2 separate regions of the Homo sapiens genome follow, and region 1 is linked to region 2. Evidence: promoter capture Hi-C in human tissues and cell types (Jung and others, 2019). All regions are on one chromosome and are shown on one strand. Each heading gives the region's core, a stretch centred on a gene start or on the middle of the fragment in contact. The rest is flanking DNA. Distances are from core to core; before and after follow the strand shown.

Region 1 (4,616 bases), core at 368-2,867, 80 kb after region 2:
TACATCTGCTATCTGCTTAGCTTCTGAATCTGGACTTGGTTGCAATTAGGGGGAGAGGAGCTACAGATACCAGGAAGGAAGGAGTCTGTTGCTTTCAGGATAGCTCCATCTCAGAGTACAAATCAAGTGTAAAAATTGGATCTTGTCCAGACATTGGATTGGACCAAAGTAGACTAACTCACGTCAATCATGTTCACAAAAGATTGAGGCATAAGCCAAAAATATCCACATCTTCATTTGCTTTGAGAACTGCAACTGTCAAATTGAATGGATATTTAAATTCCCTGATGGTGCATTCCCTCCTTATAGAAAATATGCATGAGACTGAACTAGAGTCAGAAAATGACTTGGTGAATATTGAAAGGCAGTGTAGCACAGTGGTTTAGAACTTAAGCTTTTGACTCAGACAAACTTCACTTCAATACCTGCTGCTGTAGACTTCAGCAATTGCATCGCCACCCTGAACTTCAGTTTCTACATTTTTAAATAAAGATATTCACAGTGCTGGTGCACAGGGCTATCACTTAAGTGAATTCAGAACCTGGCAATGGCTAGTGCTCAGCCAGTATTAGCTATGATTATTACTCCAACTTTTTTCATAGTGTCAGAACAAGGGCTGTGGATTGGATAAACTTAATGTCCAGTATTATCTATTTAAGAGATCCTGGTATATCCTCACTATGGCTTCTGTGGGAAAAAAGGAATTTCAAGTCCCAAATCAAGGTATTCTTTGAGCGGCACTAGAGACAAATTAAGGTGTGGCTTTGGGGGCAAATGAAGGATTTGACACCTTCTATTTAGATGTAAAATATATAAATCTCATAAATAAATATAATAAGGCAAGGAAGGGTTCAGGAGCTGGAATAGACCATCTAAAGTTTAGGTTTTTAAATCCAAGGGGCCAGGAGAAGCCAAACTGACTGGAGAAGCACCTGTGAGTGAGGAGCACCTCTGAGTGAGGAGCATCTGTGAGGAGCACCTGTGAGGACCACCTATCCTATGTGGAGCACCTGTGAGTGAGGAGCACCTATCCTATGAGTGAGGAGCACCTATCCTATGAGTGAGAAGCACCTCTGAGTAAGGATCATCTGTGAGTGAGGAGCACCTATGAGTGAGGAGCATCTATGAGTGAGGAGCACCTGCAAGAAGCACCTGTGAGTGAGGAGCACCTATCTTATGAGTGAGGAGTACCTGCGAGTGAGGTATATCAGAGGTGTTAGGGAAAGCATGTGTCATTCCCAGGCATGCTTGGGGATACTGGAGCAGAATTCAATGCATTTCCTGTAGCTTTTCTTAGGGAAAGCCAAAATATTACTCTAAGTAAAGTGACTATGATGAAAAAGTCTTGCTCCATAACTTCAATTTTTTTTCTTTGCACAAAGTCAAATGATTTGATTTTTGTTCTACTTACTTGCCAGAGCTGCTTTTTAGAGATGACACCCTGGTTAACTTGTCAGAATTCTGGGTCTCTCAAAATCTCCATATTGGCTTCTGGACCACCATTTAAATTAGTTCAACCCATCACATCCATCACACTTAAAAATAATCTTTTACTTTCAAAAATAACACATGCTAGTAAAAGAAATGGTGTGTGTCATACAGAAGTTGACACCCACCATTCTTCCCCCCACACTCACTCCCTAGAAGCAAACATTATCCATCTTTTGAGTGTGTTCTTCTAGATTGTGTTCTTATTCATACACAAATATTTCTGTTTCATTTTTACTTAACTGTAACTATGCGTATACACACTGTTCTGGTATTTTACATTTTTTACTTAATTATATTATTACTAAGAGAAAAGTACTTGTGTAAACAGATAGGACATGTACAATCCAAGGCACACTTTTACTGGTGGCTGATATGTATCATATGGACAGCTGAAATAGTTCAAAGGAGCCTTAGATATCTTATCAAATACTGACACCAATCGATAACTTGACAAATGGTCTGACCCAAACTTTTTAACATGCACAATAATAAATCCAAGCTTTCTCAAAACAGAATTATTTAACCACAGAATTTTTTCAAACAGGAGTTTGAAGTACTTTTAACACAGCATTATTTTACTCTTTTGCTACTTATAACAAAATGTATTTCACACAGAATTTGAGACATGGACAGAAGAAACCAGACCTGCATCTATGAATTTCTTCTCATGGGCTTCTCTGAACACCAGGAGCAGCAGGCTCTTTTGTTTGGGCTTTTCCTGGTCATGTACTTGGTCACTGTGTTGGAGAACCTGCTAATCATCCTGGCCATTGGCTCTGACCTGCACCTCCACACCCCCCATGTACCTCTTCCTGTCCAACCTGTCCTTTTTGGATATTGGCTTTATCTCTACAATAATTCCCAATATGCTAGATCATATTAGCTCAGGAATTAAGCTGATTTCTTATGGGGAGTGTCTGACACAACTCTATTTCTCTGGCCTATTTGCAGATCTGGACAACAACTTTCTCCTGGCTGTGATGGCCCTTGACCGCTATGTGGCCATCAGCCATCCTCTCCATTATGCCCTAACCATGAACTCCCAACGCTGTGTCCTGTTGGTGGCTGTGTCATGGGTGATCACTATTTTACATGCCCTAGTGCATACCCTCCTAGTGACCAGGCTTTCCTTCTGTGGTCCAAATATTATCCCTCACTTCTTCTGTGATCTGGTCCCACTCCTGAAGCTGGCCTGCTCCAGTACTTGTGTCAATGATCTGGTGCTCATCCTTGTGGCAGGAACACTGCTGATTGCGCCCTTTGTCTGCATCCTTATGTCCTACTTTTACATTGCATTGGCCATCCTGAGAATTGATTCCCCAAGGGGTAAGCAAAGGGCCTTCTCCAGCTGCACTTCCCACCTCTCTGTAGTCTCTCTGTTCTATAGCACAGCTATCGGTGTCTATTTATGTCCTCCATCATCCCACTCAGATGGAAAGGACAGAGTCTTCTCAGTCATGTACACGGTGGTGACTCCCATGTTGAACCCCTTCATCTACAGCCTGAGGAACAGGGATATGAAGGGGGCACTGGGAAAACTGCTTGGAATAAAAACATCCTAACACCCTTACTCAAGACCTTAGGATCCTGACCCCAAGACTCAGAGCTGGGAGTGGATCAGTCTCCTGAGAGCCCAACCACTATAGCGTCTCTCAGCCCAAGACTTCATTGTTGCCATGTTTACATTTTGAAATGGATGAGGAGAGAACCAGTGATATCAGTCATCTTTAATCATCTTCACAAAATGTTCATGCCCTGACTAGTTCATTATCCACTCTCAGAATTGTTGTTTGTTTTTGCCAAATGCCTGCATGTGGGGGACTTGTATGCATATAAAATGAAAACAAAAGCCTAAATTTTTGATTAGCTCAAGTTATAAAGGAATTCCAGTAAGTGGCATGAGGGGGAAATGTGGAAATGTTTAGAACTTGTGGTACATCTAATATCCTCTGAAATGTCTTAAAAATAATGATGTAGGTCTGAGAGTGCTGTAGGAGGTCCATGATATATTGATGAGAGAAACAAAGAAAGCTCCAGAACAAATGATCCTATTTTTATAAAAACAAAATTTTATATATGCATGTTCATATGTGCATAGAAATTGTCTAAATGGGTACATGTCACAATAATAGCAATTACTCCTAGAGAGAAATCAGGTAGGGAGTGGTGAGAAACACTCTCAGTTTTTATTCAACATATGTCTTACTGCTAATTTTTTAAAAATATAAGTATGTACCACTAAAAAAAGCAAATAAGACGCTGCATCTCTAAGAAAGAACTAAGGGCAGGGAGACAGTCCCTCCCTGCCTTGACCATATCGAAATTTCTGTGGGCTTCCTTCTCAAAGCCAAATTTGGAGCACATGTAGTCAACCCCATGTCCAGACTGATCTCCCAGGTCCTGGCTGCTCTCCTGGGATCAGCTGAGCTGCCAAGCCACAGTCCCTAATACTGACACCAGGAGCACTGTCTCATGGGCCTCACTCCCCAGAGAAGTCAGTGAGGTTGGACAATGACACATTTGGGACTCCATGCTAGTGAGAACCATGGAATCCATGCAGAAGCATGTGATAAAACATCAGCTGCCAGCACCTTCCCTAGACAGGTCCTCCTGCCCCTGAAGAGCAGAAGCACCACCAGGAGTCTGGTGGCTCTACCCCTACAGCCCCTCCCTGATGCTTTTCTTTCTTCTATTCTTGGAAATTTCCTCTGTCTTCGCTGAGTGGTCAGCTCCACGCTGCTGTCAAAACAAGACATGATGACAGATGCTGCCTGAGGCGGATTGGGAGAGCCAGGGCCAGTACAGCTGAAAGGTAAATATCTGCTCTTAGGAGCCTGCACACCAGAGCACAGAAGTTTCTGGACACCTCCGACAATTCCTGTATAGGCTTTCAGTAATTTCTGGAGGGAGGACCATCTTTCTCAAAACTGATCCTTTGTACAATACTATTGAGTATTGTGAAGTTTGTCTTTGACTTCCTAATCGTCTTGTGTTTTTCCTCCCCTCGTCATGCCTCCTCCTCACACCATCCTCAGACATTCTGTGTCTTTATGGACTCTCCCATTTCCCCTTATCAAAACCTATCCACAAAAGAGTATGAATGATTTATAGGTTGGTGCAAAAGT
Region 2 (4,658 bases), core at 453-2,952:
GCAGTCAAATAAGGAGAGAGGATTTCCACGTTCCTCTCATCTAATAGTCACTAAAAGGATGGTGGCATTGCACGTTTCTGACCAGCATGGGGCAGAGGTAGCACAAGGAGCTTTAACCCCCTTCCTAGTGAAACATTAGCCAACCGTGGGGTGGGCAACCCGCATGGAAACCTAAACATTGAATTTGAACCTTTTGATGGGGATCTCTTTAGCTATTCTGCAGCACATGGAATGCAGCCTCCATCTTTATTTCTTTTGTCTTACTCCCCACTTAATGCCACAAACAAAACAAGTGCCCCCAAAATTTTAATGATCGACAAATTAATAACCTAGAATGAAAGTGTCATGAAAGCAGGGACTTTGTCTTGCTCAGTGTCATAACCCTAGCACTTACAATAACTTCCAACACACCATAGATAGTAAATATTTATTGAACAAATATATCTCAGAGAAAAGATTTTTTGACTTCTGAGTTGGGGGAGGAATGAAGAATACTAATAGTAATAATAATAGCTATCCCTTATTGAACACCTACTGTTATTCACTACTATACTGAATGCATTTCATAGTTTATTTCAGTTAATCCTCCAAGTTACATTATTAGATAGAAACTGTTATCTCCATTTTATAAATGAGAAAACCAAGGCTCAGAGAGGCTAAGTAACCAGACTACAATCTTATGGCTAGTGTGTGGTAGACCCCAAAATGAAGCCCGTTTGTCTGACTCCAAGCCTATGTCTTTTCATTAAATGTTGCTGTCACCACATCTAAGAGGAAACAATACTCCTGTGACTGAAGAGCCTCTTTAGGGCCCCCTTCATGTCCTTGTTCCTTAGGCTATAGATAAAGGGGTTCAACATGGGAGTCACTATGGTGTACATTGCAGCTGCTGCAATGTCCTTCTCTTCAGAGGCAATGGAGGGAGGACACAGGTAGGCACTGAAGAGGGTCCCATAGAACACACAAACAACGCAGAGGTGGGAACTGCAGGTGGAAAAGGCCTTGCCCACCCCACCACGGGTTCGGACCCTCAGGATAGCTGGCACAATGTGGATGTAGGAGGTGACAATGCATAAAAAGGGGACGATGAGTACGGTGCCTCCCAAGACAAAAACCATCATCTCGTTGATGTGGGTGTCAGAACATGACAGCTTCAGGACAGGAGTGATGTCACAGAAAAAGTGAGCAATTTCCCCAGTCACACAGAAGGACAACCGAGCCATGAGGAACGTGTGAGTCAGGGCAACGATATTGGTGAGGACCCAGCACAATGCAAGCATTAGGGCACAGACTTGGGGCCTCATGACTGTGGAGTAGCAGAGGGGGTGGCAAATGGCCACATAGCGGTCATACGCCATGGCAGCCAGGAAGAAGCTGTCTAGATCACCAAACATCAGAAAGAAATACATTTGCGTGAGGCAACCCGTATAGGAGATGGTGTGATGCCGAGTCTGTATATTCACCAGCATCTTGGTAACTGTGGAGGACGTTAAACCCATGTCAACAAAAGACAGGTTGGCCAAGAAAAAGTACATGGGGGTGTGGAGGTGCAGGTCAGAGCCAATGGCCAGGATGATGAGCAGGTTCCCAGTCAAGGTGACAAGATACATACACAGGAAAATTCCGAAGAGGGACTGCTGTTGCTCTGGAGGCGCTGATATTCCTCGGAGGAAAAATTCAGAAATGCTGGATTGGTTTTCCATGACTCTGCAGCATCTGGAGCTGAGGGAAGACAGTTAGAATGCTAGATTTCATCTACAACTGTGTGGGCTGACTCCCAAATCTCCCTTTAAGTTCATTATATTCCTAATCCTGACTTTATCTTCATTCTGATCCTGCTTCTTTTCTCTCTTCATCAGAGTCTCATTTTCCCCCTTTCTCCTCTCTTTACCACTATTTAATCTTTTACACATAGAGTCCCCTTCCAATAAGGTCAGGGCATATTCTCCCTTGGCATGACCATGCCTTAGACTAGTCTATAGCCTCATGTTAGTTTCATTTTTGCAGTAGGCTGTCTATGTGAGTAGACTGAGGTCAGCTAAATTTTACATTCTTTTGGGAGGTAGCCAAAAAACCCACACAAAATTCTTAATTTTGACACATCCTCATTCATTTTAGAGTGAAGGGCATATGAAGGACTCATGCCTCTTTATTTTTTCATTATTTCTTTTGAAAAAGAAAATACGAAGTCCTGCATTTCTCCCTGCATTTGAGTTTTTGTCATTGGCATCATCATCATCCTGTAGCTAACGCATATTACATGTTAGCCACATATATGACAGGTACTCTACTAAGTACTTTATGAAGATTGTTTCCTTTAATCCTTAAACAACACTAGGATGCAGAGATTGTTATTCTTACCCTTATATAAGAAAACTGAGTCTAAGGATGTTTAAGTAAATTGTACAAGGACCCAGAGCTCATAAATATTTGAGACAGAATTCAAACCCACAGCAATGGTTTCCAGAGACTGTACCATCAGTCAATATAGATAGAAAGTAACTTTCTAGGACCACATTTATATTTAATCCCTCAGTATTCTTAGTTTAACGTATTTAGTCTCACTTGCCTTTACTATCTTTTATATGTGTGTTTTACAGAAGAACAACGAAATTTAAGAACTAGATAGAACCTGAAAGATCACCTGGCCCAGAGGTCTCAAGCATTGGTCTGTAGACCAGTTTATCATAATCAAGTGAGATGCTTATTTAAAATCCTGATCCCGGCTGGGCACAGTGGCTCATGCCTGTAATCCCAGCACTTTGGGAGACCGAGGCAGGCGGATCTACCTGAGGTCAGTAGTTCAAGACCAGCCTGACCAACATGACAAAACCCCATCTCTATTAAAAATACAAAAATTAGCCGGGTGTGGTGGCATGTGCCTGTAATCCCAGCTACTTGGTAGGCTGAGGCCGGAGAAGCACTTGAGCCTGGGAGTTGGAGGTTGCAGTGAGCCGAGATCATGCCATTGCACTCCAGCCTGGGCAATAGAGCAAGACTCCGTCTAAAATAAATAAATAAATAAAGATAAAAATAATAATCCCTACCTCAGACCTGTCAAATTTAAATTTCTAGGATACAATTTAGGTACCTGTATTTAAAAACTAAAACTGAAGGCTTCTCAGGTATTTTGATGCTCAGTGAGGATTAAGAAAATTTTGCTTAGTCCAACTCCTCCCTTTGATTCAGATAAATAAGCTAAAGTTCAAAAGACCAAAGTGATTGAAAAAGTTTACACTATGTCTTGGAGGAAGATACGGTATGAAAACCAGGGTATCAATGCTCTCAGACAGGTGTTCTTTTTAAAAATCAGCTATCTTTTCATTTTTAGAATTCTTTGTCATTAATATCTTACAGATCTAGATGTGTTTCTTTGTCCTGATTTATATTTAGAGTCTATACCTGAATAAAAAGTTATCTTCAAATTGATAGCTTTACTAAAGCACTGTTTGTATTCTGAAGTGGATAGCAACATCTGAGAACTATTGCGTATGTATCTATCCCTGAACCCTACACTGACTGAAGAACATCTCAGGGTTTTACAACTTTTCTGAGGGATCTGAGGCTACAGTCCAAGTTATTTTCTCCCCTACTTCAGCACTTGATAAGGCACCCTCTGACAGGGCACATTCTAATAGCCATGTCCAGAAGGGTAAGAGATCCTCTTATGATTCAGCTGATTGTTTGTCTCATCAAAAGAAGGGCTACACAGTGGCAGACAATGCCATATTTTCCTAGCATGCAGACCCTGCCTTCAGCAAGCAAGTCCTTTCATTGAGGTTTTCAAAGGGACAGTAAGTTATTTTAGGGAAGAGCAGCATCTTTTTGATCATTTGTGTTGGCATATACTGCCTTAATCAGGCTATTTCTATGGAGGTTCTTTGATCTAGGGCACCAACTGCTTAACATCAGAAAACTCCCCAAATCCTCAAAAAAGGGTCCAAAGCAGCCTAGCTTTTTACCTTCTGTCGTATTTTTTGGTCTCTACTCAAGCACTCTGCACCATCTCTTGCTCTATTTTTGGTTTTTCTCTTTCCCTAAAAGGGTTTCTCATCCTTCATCCTATCTATGGCCTCATAAAACTCTGTAGATCCTTGAGATATCAATGGGGTTCTTCCAGAAACTTGGGGCAATCCTTCCCTCTGTCATCCGAGGGTGATGAGGTCTCTTTACTTACCTCCAACTGCCTCTTCGTCTACTGTGTCAGCCAACAGGTAAGAGCTGGCTGGAACATGATGGACAGAGTATTCCAAACATAGGACATGCCCACCTGCGACTGTTTGTCTCAAGTGACTCTGCTTACCACTACCCTGGTAACAGAGAAGAAGGCAAAGTAGATGTTCTTAATTTGAGGGGAAGAGCTCAGATTCTTCCTGACAATCTTTGTGATGACATTAACTGAAATGAGGGTACAGGATCAAGAATAATGAATACAAATGGCAAACAGCTGGAAGCAGAAGTCAGGTTGATAAACCAAGATTAAAAATATATTTAAGGGGGTTAAGGGAGGGATGGAGAGACTAAGATTGTAGATAAGAAATCCATGAGATGAATAAAGGACTGTAAAGCCAAGTTAAGGCCAGATCAGTAGGGGAGGCTGGAGCAGTGGCAGTTACGTTCATCAGCTGGAACAGAAAAAATCAGAAGGAGGAGTATTT

Evidence for each region. Contacts are between HindIII fragments. The study calls those that stand out against the background at their distance.
Region 1: a fragment that was not itself captured here is called in contact with the fragment with the promoter of OR1N1 in region 2 in 2 of the 25 tissues and cell types used here (IMR-90 fibroblasts and mesendoderm cells).

What each region holds. Positions count from the first base shown.
Region 1 is chr9:122,605,748-122,610,363 of GRCh38, forward strand. It overlaps LOC124902265 (a long non-coding RNA gene), which reads left to right and starts at 3,960. Exons shown (of 3, transcript XR_007061759.1): 1 at 3,960-4,303. It also overlaps the pseudogene OR1H1P. The HindIII fragment of the contact is 3,849 bases long and covers 1-3,542 here.
Region 2 is chr9:122,525,591-122,530,248 of GRCh38, forward strand. OR1N1 (olfactory receptor family 1 subfamily N member 1) reads right to left here and starts at 1,703. Exons shown (of 1, transcript NM_012363.1): 1 at 768-1,703. The coding sequence starts at 1,703. The coding sequence ends at 768. It also overlaps a transcript of OR1J2 not described here. The HindIII fragment of the contact is 9,333 bases long and covers 1-4,658 here.